3 separate regions of the Homo sapiens genome follow, and regions 1 and 2 are each linked to region 3. Evidence: promoter capture Hi-C in 16 types of primary human blood cells and fetal thymus (Javierre and others, 2016). All regions are on one chromosome and are shown on one strand. The core of a region is centred on a gene start or on the middle of the fragment in contact, and the rest is flanking DNA. Distances in the headings are between cores, read along the strand shown. Region 1 overlaps ZNF585B (zinc finger protein 585B). Region 2 overlaps ZNF569 (zinc finger protein 569). Region 3 holds the start of ZNF223 (zinc finger protein 223).

Region 1 (3,227 bases), core at 74-2,573, 6.9 Mb before region 3:
TGGGGAAGCAGTGTATGCCCAGAGAACACAGTTGGTGCAAAAGCCCAAAGCTGGAGAAAGCTTCCTTGGTGCTAAATCAGCCAGAATTGGGATTCTTGACAAACAATAAAAATATTGACCACCTCCAACTGCAGGCTGTCTGAACCCTATGACCCGTTATTATAGTTATAACTTTATACTATAAACATTAAATGTGATTATGTAAAAGTAGAAATAACTAAAATGTTACATGAAAGTTTGATATATAAAATATAAAAATTATATAATCATACGATACTATATATTATATAAAATGGAAACTATTTTGTAGTAGGTATAATATCATAATGTGCTATAACATACTGTCAACACAATATACAGTGTATGATATGCACACATAAAATAAAATACATAAATCTATATTTATAATCTAGTATCTAATAATTTTTCAAATGTCATTTAAACTATCACATAGTAAAATAAAAGAGTACTTCTGAGATTCATCCATGTTGCAGCCAGTGTCAATAAATCACTTCTTTTCATGTTGGGGTAGTATTCTATTGTATAGATGTTTAATTAGTCACCCACTGTTTAATTAGTCACCCACTGTTACATTTGGGTTGTTTCCTAATTTTGGCAATTATACAGTTGCTGTGAAATTTGAGTACCCGTGTTTTTATATAAACAATTTTTCACTTATCTAGGGCAAATACCTAGGAGAGGGATTGGTGGGTCATATGATAAGTGTATGTTTAACAGTATAAGAAGCTGTCAAGGCTGGGCATGGTGGCTCACGCCTGTAATCCCAGCATTTTGGGAGGCTGAGGCGGGCAGATCACCTGAGACCAGGAGTTCGAGACCAGCCTGACCAACATGGAGAGACCCTTAACTAAACCTCTACTAAAAACATATAAAATTAGCCAGGCGTGGTGGTGCATGCCTGTAATCCCAGCTACTTGGGCGGCTGATGCACGAGAAACGCTTGAACCTGGGAGGTGGAGGTTGTGGGGAGCCGAGATCATGCCATTGCACTTCAGCCTGAGCAATAAGAGCAAAACTTCATCTCAAAAAAAAAAAAAAAAGCTGCCAAACTTTTTGCCCAAAGTGAATGTAACATTTTACATTTCTACCAACAATGCATGAAAGTTTCCATTGCTCTGCATTGTTGCCAACTCTCAGCATTATGTCTTTATTTTTAGGCATGCTAAAAGGTGTGTACAGGTATCTCATTGTGGTTTTCATTTTCATTTTCTTGAAAATTAAAGATGTCGAGCATCTTTTCATCACCTTATTTTCCATTTTTATCTCATATAACAATATGGATAGATCGCAAATACATCACATTAAATGAAACAAGTCCGACTCAAAAAGAGAGATACATACACATATATAAACAGACAGAGACACACACAGGATGTCTCCATTTATACAACATGTGGAAAAGGCAAAATTATACAGACAGAAAATGGGCTTGTGATCATCAAGGCCTGGGGGTGGGCAAAGGGATGGACTAAAAAGTAATAGGAGGAAATGTAGGGAAGTGAGGGAACTGTTCTCTGTCTTGACTGTGGTATTGACTGCATGATGTAATTGTCAAAACTTTGAGAATTCCACACTAAAAAGGGTGAATATTACTGTATGTAAATTATACCTCAATAAATACGACCTTAAAATATTACAGTCATGTTCACACAAAAACCTGCACACAGGTGTTTATAGCATCTTTATTCATAATCAACAAAACTTGGAAGCAATTAAGGTGTCCTTCAGTAGGTGAATGGATAAATAAGTCATGGTACTTCCAGACAATAGCATATTATTCAATGAGAAAAAAAAAAAAAAAAGAGCTAGCAAGCTACGAAAAGACATGGAAGAAACTTAAATCCACATTACTAAGTGAAACAAATCAATCTGAAAAGGCTGCATACTTTATGGTTCAGAGGCAAAATTATGGAGACAAAAGAAAATAGCCAGGAGTTTAGAGGAGTAGGCGAAACACAGAGGATTATTGGGACAGTGAAACGGCTCTTTATCCTTCTGTAATAATGCATACATGTCATTATTCATTTGTCTCAACCCACAGAATGCACATCAAGACTGAACCCTAATTAAACCATGGACTTTGGCCGATAGTGTCAATGTAGTTTCATCAATTGTAACAAATGTACCACTCTGAAGGGGGATGTTGATGATGGGGGAGGCTGTGTATATGTGAGGGTAGGGGATATATGGGAAATCTCTGTACCTTCTGCCCCATTTTGCTGTGAACCTAAAATTTCTCTAAAAACTAGTCTTTTATATAAATGGGCATACATATACATATATATGTCAGCACTAAAATATCACGTTACAATAAATATAAAGGAGAAATTATTGAAAGTCATGTACAGTGAAATGTGTTTTCCTCCATATTTCCTGGAATTCATGAGGAGTGATACACTTAGGAGTAAGGTAAAATGGGAATAATGAAGGGGACCAGACCTTGTTCTAGGGTATGTTAGGAAGGAAGAGGTGATCTCCAGGCACCCTCCTGAGAGTCAGCTGACATTGTCCTAAGTTGGGGATAATGTTGTATCACAAAATATCCAAAACTGAAGGAAGAATAGTGAAGCTTCAGATACAGTGCTGGATGAGGTGAAGGGAGGTAATGGGTGAGCAGACATTGGTCTAAGATGTTGAGCAGCATGTGATGGGCCATCAGATACTGTGAAGAAGTGAGGAAGCAGAGCTAATGATGGCTCAGTAGACATTGATCTAAGGTGAGGTAATGGGATGTGTCACCAAGCACTGCCCAACTAGGGCTTGGGAATTAAAGGGGCATTGTGGCCCTGCTTCTTTGACTATGTTCTATCCTTTGGGCCCCATCTTCACCTCCCCATACTGCCCTTCTTAAAGGTGAAACCATCTTTGCAGAGCCCAAATAGTTCCCACTCCCAGAACTGCCAATAGACTGGCCCCAGACGCCACCCAGCAACTGTGCATCTAATCAGATCATCTGTCAGCATCTGTAAGGCCACTGCTGCCTATCTAGGGCAAGATACCTAATATCCAATGAAGATCCACCCAAGTCTGCTCTAGTTCCCTGCTATTGGCTTCAGGCACTCCTCTCGGGGCAGGATGAGCAGGTGTGTGGATTGGGTTCTGGAGTAAATGCGGCTCTGTCGAGTTGCAACTGAGACAGGACAGCGCTGTGCATGCTGAGGAAAAATGAGCAGGGAGTCTTTTGCAATCATGTTGGAGCTGTGGGA
Region 2 (3,102 bases), core at 505-3,004, 6.6 Mb before region 3:
TTTCAGGTCCCTTTCCTAAACTGCAATAGCTTTCTACAAGTCTCCTAAGGCAACTGTTTTTGCTGCTCTTCATTATGCAGTGATAGGGAAGATGGGTTTGGGCTGCTGTTGCCCTCCCCCAGCTAACACCACAAGGAAAGGCTTCTCAGGATTCACTCCCATCTTCCCTATGAGTGCCTGTTGGGATTCCCAGAGGAAAAGCCTACAAGAGACTGCAACCCCCACCTCCCTAATTTTGCAAGTCCCCCAGTGGTTTCACACTTTCATTAGCTGACATTCACACTTTAAAAATTTGTTTAAAAACTTGATAGCTGTATTTTCTTACTGGCTTATATGGTGTCTGGCAGAGTCCATCCCAGGTAAGTAAAGCTTGAGTCCTGTTTCTCTCAGCTGGCATCTTTCTTTCCCCAGATTTAAGATTACTTGGTTGCCCTGTGACCTCAGTTCTCTGAAGGGTCCTAGAAAAATTATTTTGTAGTTTGTCCATTTCCTTGTTGTACGGTAGAAGTTTGTAGTTTCCTTGTTGTAATGATTGAAGCAAAGTTCTTTCCAGCTGTTTACATCCCTAAGGAGAAACCCAAAGTCCCCTCATTACAATAAACTTTTGAGAAGTCCTTCAGTTTATTTTGTCATGGGGCTCAAAAATACCTTGCAAATAAAGTTAGGATTAGGATAACAGTTTAAAGTCAAGTAAATTAGCTAGGATGGAGTGGGAGTGGGAAAGCATTACAAGCAAAGCAGTAGCAATTGGTAAGGCCTCAGAAAAGACGGAATTCAGTATACTGGAGGAACTCAACTTTAAGCTAATTGAGGAAATACTTTAGAAATAAATTCACAAACTAAATGTTATATTCATAACAAATGTTATTTTTCTTTCCACTGCAAAGAACTTACTTCCAGCCATATCAATTTGTTTAGTTTCTGGACTATCATGCATGATTCCCTCCTGAAATGAGCTCTGATACAGTTAAAATGCTTACAGCAACTGCCATATCTACATAATAATATATATTTTTTAACACTCCACTTGCTTGAATCCACGTTTTGCCAAAAACCTAAAACTCATTGAAAGCTCTACACCTGGCAGCATCTCTCAAGGCAGAAATTCTCTAGTTAGCGTGAACTAACTCACAGACTGGGGATATGGCTCTGTGGTGGACAACAGTATTTTCTCCCCCACCCCCAACTCTTTCCTAGTCTTCTCTCCACTATTTCCATGTGTCCCCGGATTCCAGGTCCTACCACACCACTTTGCAACACATGTTTAAATCACAAGGGAAAAGGGCCAATGACACATGAAAGAAGGATATAAGGGCTGGACCCACTTATATAAGGGCACCCACTGATGGCTGGAAGAACAGCATTAAACTCTGTGGGTACCGCTCTATCTGGGATCTAAAGTTGCCAAAGCCAGTTGCAACTACAGGAATCAAAAATTTAATTTCTCAAAAGCTTCTTTACTTTGTTTTCTCTTTAATTTGGTTGGCATGTTTGAAAACATTTTTATTCTACTCTCATACTCAAATAATAATTTGGCTAACTGTAGGCTTCTCAGAAAAACAGTTTTTCCTTAGAAATTTAAAGCAATGTGACTTCACTTTGTGGCTCCAGTGACTTCTAGTGTTGCTGTACATTGACATTCTACTTCTAGATCATTCCAACTTTTTTTTTCCTCTGTAGAAAGTTTTTGGCCTTTCTTCTCTCTTATTGGTTTCCGATAGTTGGTGTGGGTTTTTCTCATTAATCGCACTGAGCTTTTGGTCAGTATATATCACGGACATACGGTCATTTCAATCCGTATATTTATTGTTCTCTTCTAGGAAATTTTCTTGCACGTTTTTGTTTTCATTTTCTCTACTTTCTCTTACGTATAATTCCTAAGAATAGGATGATCTATCCCTTAAACTGATCATCTAAGTGTCTTATATTTTATCTCTTAACATTTCTACTTCTCTCTTAGGGCCCGTATGTTTGAGAAGGAAGCTCCCACTTATGTTAGTTAAACATTAAGTCACAGAGCTCTCCATTAAGAAAACTTTTTCTTTAGACAGGGAGTTGAAGCTTCATAAAACAGTTTAACTGCCTCCTACTTTCCTTCCCTCTAGTTCACTCTAAACATACTTGTATGTATACATTCTAGAAATTTTCTTCCAAAATTTATTACTTTTAAAAACTCGAGGCCAGGCACAGTGGCTCACACCTGTAATCCCAGCACTTTGGGAGGCTGAGGTGGGCGGATCACAAGGTCAGGAGTTCGAGATTGGCCTCGCCAACATAGTGAAACCTCACCTCTCCTAAAAATACAAAAAATTAGCTGGGCATGGTGGCAGGCGCCTGTAATCCTAGCTACTCAGGAGGCTGAGGCAGGAGAATCGCTTGAACCCAGGAGGCGGAGGTTGCAGTGAGTCTAGATCGCGCCATTGCACTCCAGCCTGGGCAACAGAGGGAGACACCGTCTCAAAAAAAAAAAAACAAAAAACAAAAAACACAAAACTCAAACTACAAAAATGTTGGAAGATCAGTACAAAGAATACTTCTAAAACCCTTAATCTATATTCAGCATTGCCACATTTTTCTACCTCTCTTTCCTTCTCTAAAAACATATACACAAACTTCACGTTAACTCTTTCAGAATGTACCTCCAAAAACTAAGAAGCCTCCTACATAAACACAATGCCATTATCACACCAAAGATATTAAACATTCGTACAATAAAATATATTATCTCTATACTTCCCTAGTTGTCGCAACAATATCCTTTAAAACCAATTTTAAAATAAATTGAGGATTTAATCGAGAATTCTATACTTATAAAATGCATCTTAAGTAACACTCCCCTGTTTAAACTTCTTTTTTTCCCCTTGCCCAAAATTTACTGGCTTATGGTAACAGAGAAACTGAGGTATGTGGAAATATGAAAGAAAAAGAGAGTGATGGAATGTGGAATTGGTATATAATGTTTAAGAATAAACAAAATAACCATGGAATACTATGCAACCATAAAAAGGATAAGTTCATGTCCTTTGTAGGGACATGGATGAAGCTGGAAACCATCATTCTGAGCAAACTATCGCAAGGACAGAAAACCAAACACCACATGTT
Region 3 (3,063 bases), core at 27-2,526:
ACAACTTATTTCTGCCCATGAAAAAGCCAGCTCAACTGCCTAATAGATAAGGCACCAAGCCAGCACACAGACCCCTTCCCTCTTCCTCCCCTACCTTTTAAAAGTGCCTGCTTTCTGCTCTAAAAGCCAAGCCGTGCACTTAAAGACAACACCTGTGCTACTTCCCCTACGCTAGCTCTAGAATAAATCACTTTCTTTATACCAGATCTCCCTCTTGTTAACTGGACGTTGCAAACGGGAAGCCACTGATCTACTTTTCAGTTACAGGGGCTGATGCTTTCCTGGCTTCTCATTGCCCCTCCCAACCCATTCTACCTGGCTCATTCTTTAAACCAGTGGTCCCCAACCGTTTTAGCACCATGGACCGGTTTTGTGGAAGACAATTTTTCCACGGACTGGGGAATGGTTTCGGGATGAAACTGTTCCACCTCAGCCATTAGATTCTCATAAGGAGCGCCTGACCTAGATCCTTCGCACGCACAGTTCACAATAGGATCCGCGCTCCTATGAGAATGTAATGCTGGGCTGATCTCACAGGAGGTGGAGCTCAGGCCATAATGCTCCCTCACCTGCCGCTCACTTCCTGCTGTGCCGCCCGGTTCCTAACAGTCAGTGGACCGGTACAGGTCTGTGGCCCTGGAGTTGGATATCCTTGCTTTAAACCCTGAGCCTCCTTTCAGCCATCTGACGGCTCAACAGTCACTCTATCTAGCTCCTTGAATATTGTATCTCCTCGCTTGTTCCCTGTCCAAGAACACTCCTGTCAATCATGGGAGACATTTAGACTTCATAAATTCTTTCTATTCAATATTTTCGCTCGAGGACTCTGGGAAGGACAACTGTCAGGGTAACAGTCTGCATTCCCCACCAGGAACCTGGGGCTATGAAATTCGTTCCCCGTGGGTGTTGCGGGAAGTGTAATCGAGGAGCACCATGTAGTCGCAACACTTGAGCCTAAAGGGTGAGGTGATGGACATTTTCCTTTTGCATCTGAGGCTCTGCAGTCCAGACACCTTGCGGGATTCCTGATACTTCAGCTCAGGTAGGCGTTTCCGGAGAATTCTGGGAAGAGTAGTCCATTTTACGGGAAGTGTAGTCCACTGGCTCGTGGAACACTGGGTATTTTGGCTCTGGCAGGTGAACCGTTGAATTCTGGGAACGATAGTCCAGACACTCTGCGGAGTCCCGGGCCCTTTGGCTCAGGGGGGCGGGTCCGGGGAATTCTGGGGAGTGGAGTCCAGACACTCTGGCGCAGAGAGGACACTTCCGGTCTCCTAGTCTGAGGTTCCTGCTTTAATGACCGGGGTAGTTTGAGCCATTTCTGCGTCTTGCAGGACATTTTGAACGAACCCCCTTTGCTTGAGGCTCGCAACCACCCGATGATCGATGATCGTCTCAGGGGAAAAGAAGCCTTGGCGAAGAGCAGAGGTTTAGAGGTGCGAGGGCGGGGAGGGTGTTTATTGTTCCCGTCAGCGGAGCCTTCTGGCGTCGGGGGGCTTTGCTCGCCTCCCGGGGGGTGGGATTGGGGTGGCCTTGTGTGCCCTGCTCTGAGGGTTTCCAGGACTTTGACCTCGCTCAGTCCGCCTCCCTACGTATGCAGTGTGTACACTCTTTCTCGCAGTGTGATGTGGAATGTTAATGTCTCTGTACTTCCCATTGCTGTTCTTTAAAATGGTGCTTATAGGGTCATCCTAATAGAATTGTTTTGCGAATTGAAAGAGATAATACAAATGAAAGCCTTAAAGTTGTCCCTGTCACTTGGTGAGTGGTCTCTTGTTGCCTGATATTTTAAAACGTTTGATATCATTTCAAAGCTATAGAAAAATTGCAAAAACAGTATAAGAAATTCTCATATACCCTTTACCCAAATTTGCCAAGTGTTTACATTTTTCCTGTTTGCTTTGTTGATGACCATCAACCAAATACCACCAGGAACATACCTGTAACCAGAGACAGCTGATTGGTAGCTTTCTGCAGCAAGGAAGCCCACATACCACGGTAATTGTGGGGTGTCTTGGTAAGAGGCATTTAGGAAGGGCTGGTTATAGGGTTTCACATAACATGGTAGATAATATTGGATATTATGTTAAATAATACTGTTACCGATTACATGTCAGATAGATGTGTTAAAAGAATACTAGTATTTGTAGTGTACTTACTAGATAGTGTTGGATAGCATATTACCTAGCATCATGTTATCTAATCTGCAGTTCCATATACGAATTTGTTAAATTTTTCATTTAAAGTCCTTATGACTGTCCTCTGCCCCACCCTTCACCTATTCAAAGTCCAGTTTATGCGTTGTCTTTAGCTGTCACATTTCCATAGTTGTTCATTTGGAGTTTGATATTGAAGGGGGCCTGCCTCTCCACACCTGTGGGTGTTTCTCACAAGGTGGAAATGAGAAACTGAGAAAAGAAATAAGACACAGACACAAAGTATAGAGGAAGAAAAGTGGGCCCAGGGGACCGGCGCTCAGCAAATGAGGACCTGTACCGGCACTGGTCTCTGAGTTCCCTCAGTATTTATTGATCACTATCTCTACTATCTTGGTGAGGGGGATGTGGAAGGACTATAGGGTAATGGTGGGGAGAGGGTCAGCCGGAAAACATGTGAGCAAAGGACTCTGTCATAAATAAGTTTAAGGAAAGGAGTTGTGCCTGGATGTGCACATAGGCCAGATTTATGTGTGACTTTACACAAACATCTCAGTGCAGTAAAGACCAGTATTGCCGCCAGTATGTCTCACCTCCAGCCATAAGGCGGTTTTCTCCTATCTCAGTAAATAGAATGTACGATTGGGTTTTATACCGAGACATTCCATTCCCAGGGATGAGCAGGAGACAGATGCCTTCCTCTTACCTCAACTGCAAAGAGGCCTTCCTCTTTCACTAATCCTCCTCAGCACAGACCCCTTATGGGTGTCGGGCTGGGGGACGGTCAGGTCTTTCCCTTCCCACGAGGCCATCTCTCAGGCTGTCTCAGTGGGTGGAAACCTTGGACAATGCCCAGGCTTTCTTGGGCAGAGGTCCCTGTGGCCTTCCGCAGTGTATGGTGTCCCTG

Evidence for each region. Contacts are between HindIII fragments. The CHiCAGO score rates a contact against its expected background, and 5 or more counts as called.
Region 1: a contact is called between a fragment that was not itself captured here and the fragment with the promoter of ZNF223 in region 3, in 1 of 17 cell types (total CD4 T cells). The highest score is 5.5, in total CD4 T cells.
Region 2: a contact is called between a fragment that was not itself captured here and the fragment with the promoter of ZNF223 in region 3, in 1 of 17 cell types (total CD4 T cells). The highest score is 5.4, in total CD4 T cells.

The regions. Positions count from the first base shown.
Region 1 is chr19:37,179,890-37,183,116 of GRCh38, forward strand. It overlaps ZNF585B (zinc finger protein 585B), which reads right to left. Exons shown (of 5, transcript NM_152279.4): 5 at 1,690-3,227. Among named protein-coding and RNA genes, the nearest start is that of ZNF585A, 8.8 kb to the left of the region's middle. The HindIII fragment of the contact is 2,530 bases long and covers 59-2,588 here.
Region 2 is chr19:37,454,509-37,457,610 of GRCh38, forward strand. All of the region lies in intron 2 of ZNF569 (zinc finger protein 569), which reads right to left. Among named protein-coding and RNA genes, the nearest start is that of ZNF569, 11 kb to the right of the region's middle. The HindIII fragment of the contact is 609 bases long and covers 1,451-2,059 here.
Region 3 is chr19:44,050,760-44,053,822 of GRCh38, forward strand. It overlaps ZNF223 (zinc finger protein 223), which reads left to right and starts at 1,277. Exons shown (of 5, transcript NM_013361.6): 1 at 1,277-1,436. RefSeq lists enhancers at 943-1,444, 1,264-1,503 and a silencer at 1,164-1,223. The HindIII fragment of the contact is 18,414 bases long and covers 1-3,063 here.